2 separate regions of the Homo sapiens genome follow, and region 2 is linked to region 1. Evidence: promoter capture Hi-C in 16 types of primary human blood cells and fetal thymus (Javierre and others, 2016). All regions are on one chromosome and are shown on one strand. Each heading gives the region's core, a stretch centred on a gene start or on the middle of the fragment in contact. The rest is flanking DNA. Distances are from core to core; before and after follow the strand shown. Region 1 overlaps PHF21A (PHD finger protein 21A). Region 2 holds the start of SLC35C1 (solute carrier family 35 member C1).

What was found. Contacts are between HindIII fragments. The CHiCAGO score rates a contact against its expected background, and 5 or more counts as called.
Region 2: the fragment with the promoter of SLC35C1 here is called in contact with a fragment that was not itself captured in region 1 in 1 of 17 cell types (total B cells); the score reaches 5.2 in total B cells.

The regions. Positions count from the first base shown.
Region 1 is chr11:46,002,772-46,008,586 of GRCh38, reverse strand. All of the region lies in intron 6 of PHF21A (PHD finger protein 21A), which reads left to right. Among named protein-coding and RNA genes, the nearest start is that of LARGE2, 83 kb to the right of the region's middle. The HindIII fragment of the contact is 1,841 bases long and covers 2,834-4,674 here.
Region 2 is chr11:45,800,330-45,806,398 of GRCh38, reverse strand. It overlaps SLC35C1 (solute carrier family 35 member C1), which reads right to left and starts at 1,250. Exons shown (of 2, transcript NM_018389.5): 1 at 63-1,250. The coding sequence starts at 597. RefSeq lists silencers at 996-1,225, 1,956-2,125 and an enhancer at 2,296-2,455. The HindIII fragment of the contact is 25,730 bases long and covers 1-6,069 here.

The DNA of each region.
Region 1 (5,815 bases), core at 2,505-5,004:
CCTTTGCTAGATATACAGGTAAATTTGACAGCCAATCAAAGCAGACTCTTTTCCCGTCTTCTACCTTTGACCCATGGAGTAGCTTTCAAGACATTGGCACTTCTCTACTGAAGCAAATCTGGGTCAAGATGAGATGTATGCTGCCCATTTCCTGAGTCCTTCAGGAAAGCAAGAGAGGAATTTTGATTAAGTTTAGCTCATCTTTTCAGAACCCAGGCCATATGTGGTCCATAGTGTCCCGGATATGCTTCACAGTGTGGAACTCTGCTCTGTATTTTCTTTAATAAGGACACACACACAGGAAAATTTCAATTGAAGACCTCACAAATGTTTTGAGATTTTATTGAGTTATCATCTGAACATTATGGATTAGTCTAGGATTTCACATGATAGAGTGTATGGGCGTATGTGAGTAAACAAATACACATTGTAGGGGAAGGTGCTGAAATGTTAAAGTTAACATTCCCAAATAGAAAATGGGATAGTTTGCAGGTTACTTTCTGAACTTCACTTCGTGTTAATTTTCACCTACCAGTTGGTGGGTAGAACAACATTAAACACATTTTACTTTAGTACCCTTCTGTTCTTATCTGGAGCATGGTAATCCCAAGTACAGACAGAAAAAGAAGAAGCAGATATGCGATTAAAAATGAAAATAACATAACAACACGGATTATTGTGATAGATCCTGTACCTTTTTAAAGACTCTGACATTCCACTTAGGAGTAAGATGGAAAAGTCCCTTGTTCTAAAATTTGAAAATGATAAAAATAAGTCATATTAATGGAAATTAAAGAAAGAATATGTCCATTGTTAGGTTATGTAAAGGGTACACATCTCACTTCTTTCACATCGTTTTTTGATTTAAATTAATGTAACTAAATTTTAAAATGACGGATTTAATATTCATGCTAGCAGTTTATTTTTAATGTGAATAAAATTAACAGTAAAACTATCATAAAAGATAGATGGGGCCGGGCACGGTGGCTCACACCTGTAATACCCAGCACTTTGGGAGGCCACAGCAGGCGAATCACCTGAGGTCAGGAGTTCGAGACCAGCCTGGGCAACAGGGTGAAACCCCATCTCTACTAAAAATACAAAAATAAGCTGGACATGGTCGTGGGCACCTGTAAACCCAGCTACTCAGGAGGCTGAGACAGGAGAATCACTTGAACTTGGGAGGTGGAGGTTGCAGCGAGCCAAGATCACGCCATTGCACCCCAGCCTGGACAAGAGTGAAACTCCATCTCGAAAAAAAAAAAAAGAAGAAGAAGAAAAAAGGTAGATGGAAGTATCTTCTGTAAAGTGCCACAGATTCCTGGCTTCAGCGCTACCTGGATTCCTTGAAAAGACAGGGGGCCCTTTTCTCATCTCTTAGAACCTCACTATCACTTTGCATGTTTTTGAACACATGGTAGGTATGCAGTGAGCTAGTGTTGATAGATGTCTCGTCACGTTATGGTTGGTTGGAGGGAAGAAAGATCACTTTTTAAGTTAGTCACTCTATATTTAAGTGTTTTTGTAATGGGAAATCACCTGTAAAACGAGCTTGCAGGAACGCTCTAAAGATTAAAACTGTGAAGTGTGTGGCATATGCTAGGCACTTAATAAGTAAATAATAGCTCTTGTTATTGTTATCTTTAAATTTTACTGACTGTTGTTCTGACTTTGACTTTGCATTTTCTGAGATCTTTGAAAATACATATTGTTAGTACCTGTTGATTTGTATTTTGTGCCTTTGAAGGAAAGAATAGAAATATTATTCCAAGGGAGGGTTGTTGGTCTTAAAATATTTTTGTGCCATTTTTATTGTAGGCAAGTATATCACATTCTAATAGGCGTTTAAGACAGTTCAATACTTAATACAAGTGTATCTTTTTAAATAAGACATTTGACCAGCTGAATAGATTGTAGTAACCTGTTGTAAACTAGTTTCAGCTGAAATCTCACTGATCCCACTAGATGGCGTTAGTTCATTAAGGCATAACTTCATCCTCTAGCTCAGGCAGACAGCTGCCTGTGTAGATGAACTGATTTTAGTATCTTTAGAGAGTGAATGTGGCAGTAAACTTTTAGACTCCTTGTTATTTATATAGCGTGATTTGTGGAGGTTATTCAGAAAGTTTAGGAAGATAGAACACTGAGGGCAGATTTATTCAAACTAAAGAACTATAACAAGTTGCAATATTTCGTTAGGTGCTTATTAATTCTGGATTTGACTTAGCCTTTGCCCTAATTGTATATACAACCGAAAGATTAAGAATTTACTGATTTCTCATGGTTTTTTGCCCTATTAAAATAATTCTTGTTTGGGCTTCTGGAAGCATTGGAAAACAAATGAAAATTGGGAGTACACATTTTTTAAAGCATGAAGTTTATAACATTTAATTTTAAAATCATTTGGCTCTTATTTATAGGAACTATGTCAACAGTGATCTACTTGTCAGTTAATCTGGTTCTTTAATCGTAAATGTAAAATAACAGTGAACATCCTAATTCTTTAATTCTCTCTTGTCTGAATTTGAATTATTTTTTATCTACAAAGACTGTTTTATATTAGACCAGCCCATTTTCAAAGTTTAAAATTGTGCTTTTCCACAGGCATTTGTAGGCTCCAAATAAACTTTTAAAATTGTATGTTTTATTTTTCTTACTGTTCTTGAGAGTTCTGAAGTTGAAGTTTTTTAAAGAAATGAATACGATTCACATGCAAAAAAAGCATTTCCACATTTCATTAGAAGTGTTTCTTTTTTCTTTATGATCAGATTCATACAGCTAGAGTAAATTGTTTCAGAATTGGTGGGATGATCCGTCTTGAGCTATGGAAGCTTAATTGTGCTACAAATATTATTCTTTTATTCATTGCTCATAGGGAGTAAGTAGTTGGTGCTGATGGTTCCCCTAATGTTTATTTAACTATTCCAGTATAAGGCAGTTCACATTTCTTAGTAAAAGGATCGTTGATAGTTTCATTTACCTAGTATGTAATAAAAAGCTGAGAATAATCAGGGGCATTTGCTAATGGAGTCAAAATAACCTGTTTTATAAGTCAGAACAGGAAGGTCTGAACATTTGGTGCCCATTAATTAAGTTAATATTGCAAATGAGGTTTTTGCTTTTCTTATTATCTTGAAACCTTCAACCAGAAAAAGCAACTGCCTAAGATTATTTGGTATATACAAGGCGTTAATATATTGTGCAAATATTCTACAGTCTGAAAAATCTCAAAATCTGAAACACTTCTGGTCCCAAGCATAAATTTGTATAAATTTTATACAATATTTTACATCATTTTGTACATGAAACAAAGTTTTGACTGCATGTTGACTATGATCTATCACTTGAGGTCAGGTGTGAAGTTTTCCAGTTGTGGCATCACGTCAGTGCTCAAAAAGTTTTGGATTTTGGAGCATTTTGGATTTCAGATTTTTCAGATTAAAGATGCTCAACCTGAATTTTTGGACTGCGGTTGCTCTTGGTAACTGAGCCTGCAGAAAGTGAAATTACTGATGTGGGGGACTGCTGTATTAGTTGGGTGTATACATGCATGTGTTAAAATTTAACTGCATAATCTCATTTTCCATATTCAGAGACATTTGCAGTAAGAGACAAATATTATTGTAAAGGGAAAAAGTAAACTTTGTTGTGTAGTGCTTATCTGTTTCCCTGTGTTTTTTCTTGAGGGTAGCCATGATAAAGAAGGGGAATAAATTTCGAACACATGTAAGTATGTGTGTAGTGAATGGGAGAGAGGGAGAGATGGTATTTTCAGGAGGCATAAACTGTATTTTACAAAGACATCTTTTAGATGATGAGTCCTTTAGTCTTGAGGAGACAGTTCAATGGAAAGCATTCTAGGCCTGGCAGATACAGCCCTCATCCACAGTAAAAGTTAAGTGCTATGAAAAAGTAATAGTCTGTGCTATGCAAACCAATATGAAGAAAAGTGAGTTTTTGTTTGATAAGAGGTCAAATGAGCACAGTTCTTTAAAACTTTTATGTTGAAGAAAAGAATAGAGAATATTCTGTCATAGCTACTGATAAAATATTTCAGTTTATGAAATATTGTCACTTACATGTTTTAAGTAGCTTTTAATATAATCTTAGAACAAGGACTTCCTTCTCTCCTCTACCCCTTCCCTACTCCCCAGTGTCTCTTATTTCTTATCTATTAAAAGTGAAATCCATTTCCTTTGGTCAAAAGTACAAGTTTTTTACAGTGTCCAAGACATCTCAAATTGATTCACTTTGTTATATAGAAAACACCATCTGTGATGTCAGACCATTTCTTAGAAAATTGACTGTTAAGAGCTCTTTTGCATTGAGTTATTTGGTTTTTATGAAGATGAACATTGGATGAAATTTCTTACCAGTATGCATAATTCAATGATTTTAAGAATCTATGGAAAATAAATTTAAACATTTTTAAATGAAATGGGATAAGAAAAAGGGGAGACAGGATTTTATTCATTGGTATATCTTTTTAATTTTCTACTTTGTGACTCCGTTTAAAAAAACCAACTCTGTAATTTTGAAGCAGAGATTCTGAAATTACCACTTTTCTAAAAATATCACTTACAGCTGAAACTTAATATATTGAAGCATTTTTGTTCTGAGGATGATACATATTTTCATAAAGATGTATTTCCAAATGGAAACAGCACTGAAGCTTCTGAAATAGGGAACCTTTCCAAAATAGGCTGTGGTTGCCTGGGTGAAGAATATTAGGTTGCAACACTCAAAAAGGAAATCCTGGCATAGGAAGCAATTGATGAAGGGCAAATGTCTGCAGAGTGTAATGAAGCTTTTAAAAGCACTTGTGTGGGCCTGCATGCAAGGCCTTGCCAGTACTTTTCAAATTAAAATTCATGTGCTCTGTAGTGTGCTGAGCCATACTCATACTTCCATCTTTACTTCTCTTCTACATAATATATCATTCTTATTTTTAATCTTCTATAAGTACTAGTCATCATCCTAGTGAGAATTGTAGCGTTTTCTCACTCTGCCCTTCGTGAAAATGTCATCATCATTATGGGCAGCAGGGCAGCTTTATGGTGTTTTAAAAATCAAGTTCATCAGCATTTTTAAGCTATCAATTTCTTGTTTTAGTGTCATTAGTACTATGAATATTGAATATTTTATGACTCTTTAGTTTTATAAAATATTTTTTTCTTTTAGCAGTGGGGGAGAGGATAGGTATTATCCTCATTTTGTAACAGTATTAACACCGAAGAGAGTCTGAGTGATGACTAGACACATAGATGGTGTGAAAAGAAAACTTGGCATTTTTTTTTTTTTTTGAATGTTAGCCTTTAACCCAAGCTCTTTCCTCCATACACTATATGCACAAAGTTTTTAGGACTTTTTTTAGTGGCACTCTCATATACAGATTTTCTTTTCAAAGCAAGAAATAATCTGAGCTTTAAAAAGATTCTATTGAGGAAATTATTCTACTCCTGTTTTTATAGTCTCAGAATGTCTCAAGATAATTTTAAATGGGTTTGTGCTATTTGGGGGAGAAGAGAAAGTCACAGAAACTTACCTGATTTTGCAAATCCAAAACAGTTAGAAATCATAGTATTCAATCTTTAGAAAAATTTCTGTAGCAGATATTTATCCAATTAATTCATTTTATTTGAATTCATTTAATTTGAGCTGTGTTTTAAGTAAAAAGGTATCAATGATCTACTTAATGTTAAATACATTGGGTGTTTTTTTGTTTTGCTTTGTTCTAGAGACTTTTTTTTTCATTACAAATTTCGGCCTTGGGGAAGAAGGGTCTTTTGAATAAAGATAAAACTAGTTCTGTGGA
Region 2 (6,069 bases), core at 1-2,500, 200 kb after region 1:
TGTTCTTCACTGCTTCAGTCCCCATGACCACTCTATCCCCCGTGGCCCCAGCTGCCACTCACCGATGATGATACCGCAGGTGAGCAGGGCATAGAAGGAGGTGGTCTGCTTGAGCAGCAGGTAGGAGAGCAGCACGTTGAAGACGGTGGTGAGTGAGCGGCCCACATTGTAGAAGGCCACACCGACGTACTTGAGGCAGAGGTTATTGAAGGTGATCATGCCGATGAAGACCACCGACAGGGGCAGGACGCTGCGGGCCACCCTGAGGTCCAGGCGCAAGCTGGGGAAGTCCACGGCACCAGGGCAGCAGGCGGCCAGAGCGCTGAGGCCTTTGCACAGCAGCGTGGTCACCAGGCACTGGTAGAAGGTGACGAAGATGGGGGTGTCCAGCCGCAGGGAGGGGCTGTCCAGCAGGTACTTATTAAGGAACACCATGGAGATGGAGGTGACCCAGTAGAGGGAGACCACCAGCGCGATCTGCAATGCCCGCAGCAGAAAGGGCTTCTCCCCGTTGGCCTCTGCCTCTGCAGAGGGGTCTGAGGCCCCGGTCAGCGCCATGTGCAGGATCCTGGACCGCTTCAGAGGGGCCCTATTCATGGTAGCAGAGGAGCTGGGTCACCCCGCGGCCAGAACTCTGATTCCCTGGAGTCCAGGGCAGTGAGCTCACTTGTGCTCTCCGCAAGGAAGCCGCAGCCCTCCATTGTCACATGTGGGCTGGCCTAAAGGCCTCCCCATTGTCCTCATGGATTGAGAAGTTCTGCTTTGGGGTGAGCCCAGTTGTGCTGCTCCACAACCTACTCCCACCCCGAGGGGGCTCTGAGACAAGACACAGGGCAAGGGAGAGGAATAGGATAAGGCGGTGAGGCCAGGACAGAGAAGACCTGTGAGGGGAGAAGAGGCTGGGGCCTAACAGGGAGGGGTCGCAGAGAGAAGGGAGGGGAGAGGAATGGCAGGGCGGGGCAGGAGTAGGTACGCGGGGCGAAGGTGCAGGAAAAGGACGCGTGGCAGAGTGGGAAGAGGTGCCGAGAGGGCGTCATGGGCGGCTGTGGGAGGGAGGGGCGGGCAGGGGGAGGGAGGCGTACAGGGAGCTGCCGGAGGCCGGGCGCGGCTGGAGGGAGGGCTGCGGAAGGGTCAGAGGGGCTCGGGGCTTGGGGCTGAAGGACGCGGGAGGGGGCTGGGCCGGCGCCCACGTCTCGCTGCCTTCCCGGGCTCTGTCGCCGGCTCAGCCCAGGAGCCTCCGGACATCCGAGGCCGACTCCCCGGGAGGCGGGCCCTGGACTCACTTCCTGACACGCCCCCACGTGGCCTTAAAGGGCCCGCACGCCCCGCCTTGCCCTTAAAGCGACAGCCCCAGAGAGGCGGAGTTCGCCAGTCCCCAGCCCCGCCCCTGCGCTCCGCTGCCCGCTGCTGGCGGGGGACCTCGGCAGCCACAGGTTTTTCTGGGTGCTTGAGCCTCGCCCTGCTTCCTGGAAGGGCTCCATCAACCTCGCCTGCCCACCCTCAGCTCCGTCCGCCCCGGAGCCTCCGTCCCCCGACTTGGCTAGGCTTGGCTCGCAGGTCCACTTCCCGGAACCCCGACCCAGGACCCGGGCGGCGCTACATCAGCCTGGACCCCTCCACCTCCGGAGACTCGCGTTGCAGCCCCGCGTCCCTCTGCCAATCCGAGCTCACTCTTCCATAACAATGTTGTGGTCCCCTCCTTTCCCCCCATTTTCACCGCCCCCAGGCCCTCTCCCAAGCCCGAGACCCCCGGCAGCGCTCCCCGAGGCCGGAGGCCACGCCGCCTCTCTCGGACTTCAGTTTGTCCTCCCTGTGCTCCTGTCGAGGTCCTCTGGGCGGCCCGGATCCGAGATTCCAAAGGCTCAAGACAGCATCTCTTACCCCTTCCAGAAAATACTGTTTCCCCGGCCGGTCCAGCCGCATCAGCTCCCGCGTCCCTGCCTGTGTCCCCGGGCCGCGAAGGCGACCTGGCGCTCACCTCCTCCGGTGCACTGGGCGCCCGCCCCGCGACCCCGTGCTGCATCTGCAGCGCCGCACCCTGGGCCGCGCCCGCGGGATCGACTTCCTGCTTTCCGCCCCGGGCCCGGGCACCTTGCCAGCCTCGCCGGCCTGTTCGCGGCATGGGCCCCGGGGGTGCCGGCGGAGAGGCGGTGATCCGGACGGTCGTGGGAGGAGGCCCTCTCCTCTTTCCAAGGCTACTCCTGTCCCTGGTACCCCCGCCCGCCCGGGACCCGGCTTCAGTTACCGCAGCTGGCACGTCCCGGGACTTGGCTGTATCCCTGGCCCGCCGCGCTACCGGCTTGCACTTCCAGAAGTGCGTGCGGGGACCGCTCGGATTCTTCCAGCTGGCAGTGAGGGGGAGGGTTCCCCGCCCCTTCCAGGGCCGGGGCCTGGGAAGTCTAGCCTGTGGTCTGCCACTCACCAGGCAGCCGGGGAGACCAGGAGGATCGACTTCTCTTGGTTCGCGCTCTAGCACCTGCGTTGGGCAGGCCACTTTCTCCGACGGCCTGAGTTATCTTCATGGTAAAACTAAGGGGCTAGGCTTGACCTGTGGGTCCCAACCTTCTTGCCCAGAACTCTAGGTGGTATGGTCGAACATAGATGTTTGTAATATTTCAAGCACCATTTAATTAGTGCCATTTAATTAACGGGTAAGATGATGTCATGGCTGGGATTTGTTTTAAAATACTAAGAATACTTACCAAAAATATTTTTTATTTTTATTTATTTATTCTTTTTGGGACGGAGTCTCGCTCCGTCGCCCAGGCTGGAGTGCAGTGGTGCTATTTCAGCTCACTGCAACCTCCGTCTCCCGGGTTCAAGCGATTCTCCTGCCTCAGCCTCCCGAATAGCTGGAATTACAGGCGTCCACCACCACGCCCGGTTATTTTTTGTATTTTTAGTAGAGACCGGGTTTCGCCGTGTTGGCCAGGCTGTTCTCTAACTCCTGACCTCAGGTGATCCGCCGGCCTCGGCCTCCCAAAGTGCTGGGATTACAAGCGTGAGCCACCGTGCCTGACCTCAAAAAGATTTTTTTTAAAAGGTTGATAGATTAAATAAGATAAGCCATTGATAGTTGTAGCTAGGCGTAGATACACAAGGACCCATTATAAGAGTTTCCTTACTTTTGTGTACATTTGCAAATTTCCAGAATAAAAAGGTAAAACCTATATAGTACGCTTAAACTCTCAGATCCTAACTGCACAAACCTTCACTGGAGCTGAGCGCAGCCCTGGGTGGGCTGTAGGGAAATGGGAGGGCTGCAGGCTGCAGTGAAGTAAACAGCTGCCCCACAACGAGCCGGGCCCACACCCTACCCTCTTCCACTAGCCCCGGGTACTAGCACTCCCCTCTTCCTCCTCAAGGAATGAGACTCTGCTTCCTAGTTGTGGGCTGTTCTCCACCTGGAGGATACCATCTGGTTACCTTGTCACTTTTGGAACTAAAATATCCCTTTGGGGAAAGAAAGACTCAAGAGGGACTGAGCTGGTCTCCTCAACCCCACCTGGAGAGTCTACCTCTGGGATTTTCCTTTGAAGCTGTGGGTTTTGGTTCATTAAGAGCAATTCGTATCTGTTCCAGTCTCTCCTCTCTTATGCCCGAGAGTTCACCATGACAAACAATTTAGTGACAGACAGGGCAAACTTGTCCCTGAGAGGCCCTGGTGATCTGGAAGGGCCTTCTCCTTAGCACATTAGCAGGAACTTGTCTGATGACTGCTGCCACCTTGAACTGGAGGGAAGAGATATATCTTGTATATAGGCCAGATGCACTTCGCTGAGAGAGGCCCAGGGGCAGTCAGTGCTGCGTGTGTGGGGGACAGTGTGGGCTCTCTATGGAGGCCAAAGTATACCCCTGTCTCCAATCTCTCACATCATACCTGAAATTCTGTCATTAGTGTCACTCCCTTGGATTAAGGTTGTTAACAGGCCAGTACAGCAAGTTTCCTGGATTCTAATCATTTTATCCCTTATGAGGGAAAGGAGGGGTGGGGATGTTTCTTAGGGGGTCTAAGGCCCCTGGGAATTGTGTACCTTGCATAAATGGTTTGCTTTTGAATTTTCTTTAAGGAATGTTAATTGTTTAAACCATCCACAAAGGGTGAAATTTTAGGTCTTGCCAACAGTGATTATCCAGGGTGTGAATTTGGTGTGAGGTAGAGCATAAGATCATCAACGTGGCAGCTGAAGGGCTGTAATAGTTCCTTTATGGGTGTAGTCTCATTTTCTTGCCTTGGCTGGGAGCCACTAATAATGTCAGCAGGAAATTATTTCTGCCAGTCACAGTGAACAGAACTAACTTCCCAGGTTCAGGGGTCAGTGGATCTGTACCTGTGCGGCTTGAGAACTTCTGGGAACACACAGATGTTGACTGTCTCACTCTGAGTTCAACAAGGACTCATGAGCCTACCCTATGTGATAGACACTCCTAGTTGTCTACCAAAATTCACTCCCCCATTCATCCAAAATAATTGGATTGTAGCTAGTCTTATGGTTGCCCAGCCAAAGACTACATTTCCCAGCCTTCCTTCTAAGTAGATGAACCATGTGACTTAGTGGATGGTGAAGGGAAGTGTCTTGGTGAGTTCAGCCTGCTATAACAAAAATACCATAGATTGAGCAGCTTAAACAGTAAGCATTTATTTCTCACAGTCTGGAGGCTGGGAGGTCCAAGATCAAGGCCCAGGTGGATCTGGTGTCTGGCAAGGGGCTGCTTCCAGCTTGTAGAAGGCTGCTTTCTCCTTCTGTCTTCACCTGGCACATAGATGGGGGTGGAGTGGGGGGAGGATCTCATGTCTTTTCTTATAAGAGCACTAATCCCACCATGAGGGCTCCACTCTCATGACCTAATTACCTTCCAAAGACCCATCCCCAAATACCATCATATTGGGGCTTAGGGGTCCATTGGAGTATATAAATTTTGGAGGGATACCTCCAGTCTATAGCAACACGTGAGATATGCTACTTTCTAGGTCTTTAAAACTTTAGGAGTGTGTTCCTCCATGCTTTTTCTTCCTCTTCCCATAACCTGGAAACCAAATGCATCTATAAGCCAGTCTTGACCATGAGGACAAGGACAACGTCTTAGAGGCTGTGGAGGAATGTGATGGAAAAAGCCGAGGTCCCTGATTCTGTGGAGCAGAGATACCTGCCACTGTGGACTGTGGGAAATCAACTTATGTTCCTGCATACCTACACAGTTCTAAAGGGGTCTCTTTGCTACAGCAACAAGGCCTTTACCCACATGCCTACTGGAATGGCATTTCCTCCTCACACACATATTTTCTAGGCAAAATTGAGAAGGCATGAAATTGCTTAGTCTAATTTCTCTGTTCCTCTCTCTCTCTTTTGCTTTATCTCTCACAGTTTCCCATCCATCCATCCATCCATCCATCCATCCATCCATCCATCCATCCAACTGTTCATCCATCCAACCATCCATCCATCCGTCTGTCCATCCTGTCCTTATCCAGGACCTAGCACAATGCCTGCCACAGTAGGTGCCTAGTGCCTCGTTGTGGAATGAATGGAAGTCAGACCATGGGTAGGAATGCCTGGAAATCAGGGCCAATTTAAGAACCGTATTGACCCTAATCCCTGAAGTTTATAAGGCTTCTCATTCATCCCACATATAATTCAAAGTAAAAATTAACACTAAACTACAAAATACATGTAAGCAGAGCAAAAATCTTTTTTTTCCTCATTATTACTGGAATGCTCTTTTGAAAATAATAAGCTATTTCCAGAAAAAAATTATGTCTTCCTTTTCTAGTACTTGTGGCAGATGCTACCAATCATCTATTTCAGGAGTTGGCAAATTTTTTTTGTAAAAGGCCAGAGAGTAAGTGTTTCAGATTCTGTGGGCCATATAGTCTCTGTCGAAAGTACTCAACACTGCTATTGTAGTATTGTAAACAAATGGATACAGCTGCATTTCAATAAAACTTTATTTATAAAAATGGAGGAATGGACAGAAGTTGGTTAATGGGTACGAAAATACAGTTTTAGATAGAAGGACTAAGTTCTAGTATTTGATAGTACAGTAGAAGAATTATAGTTAACAATAACT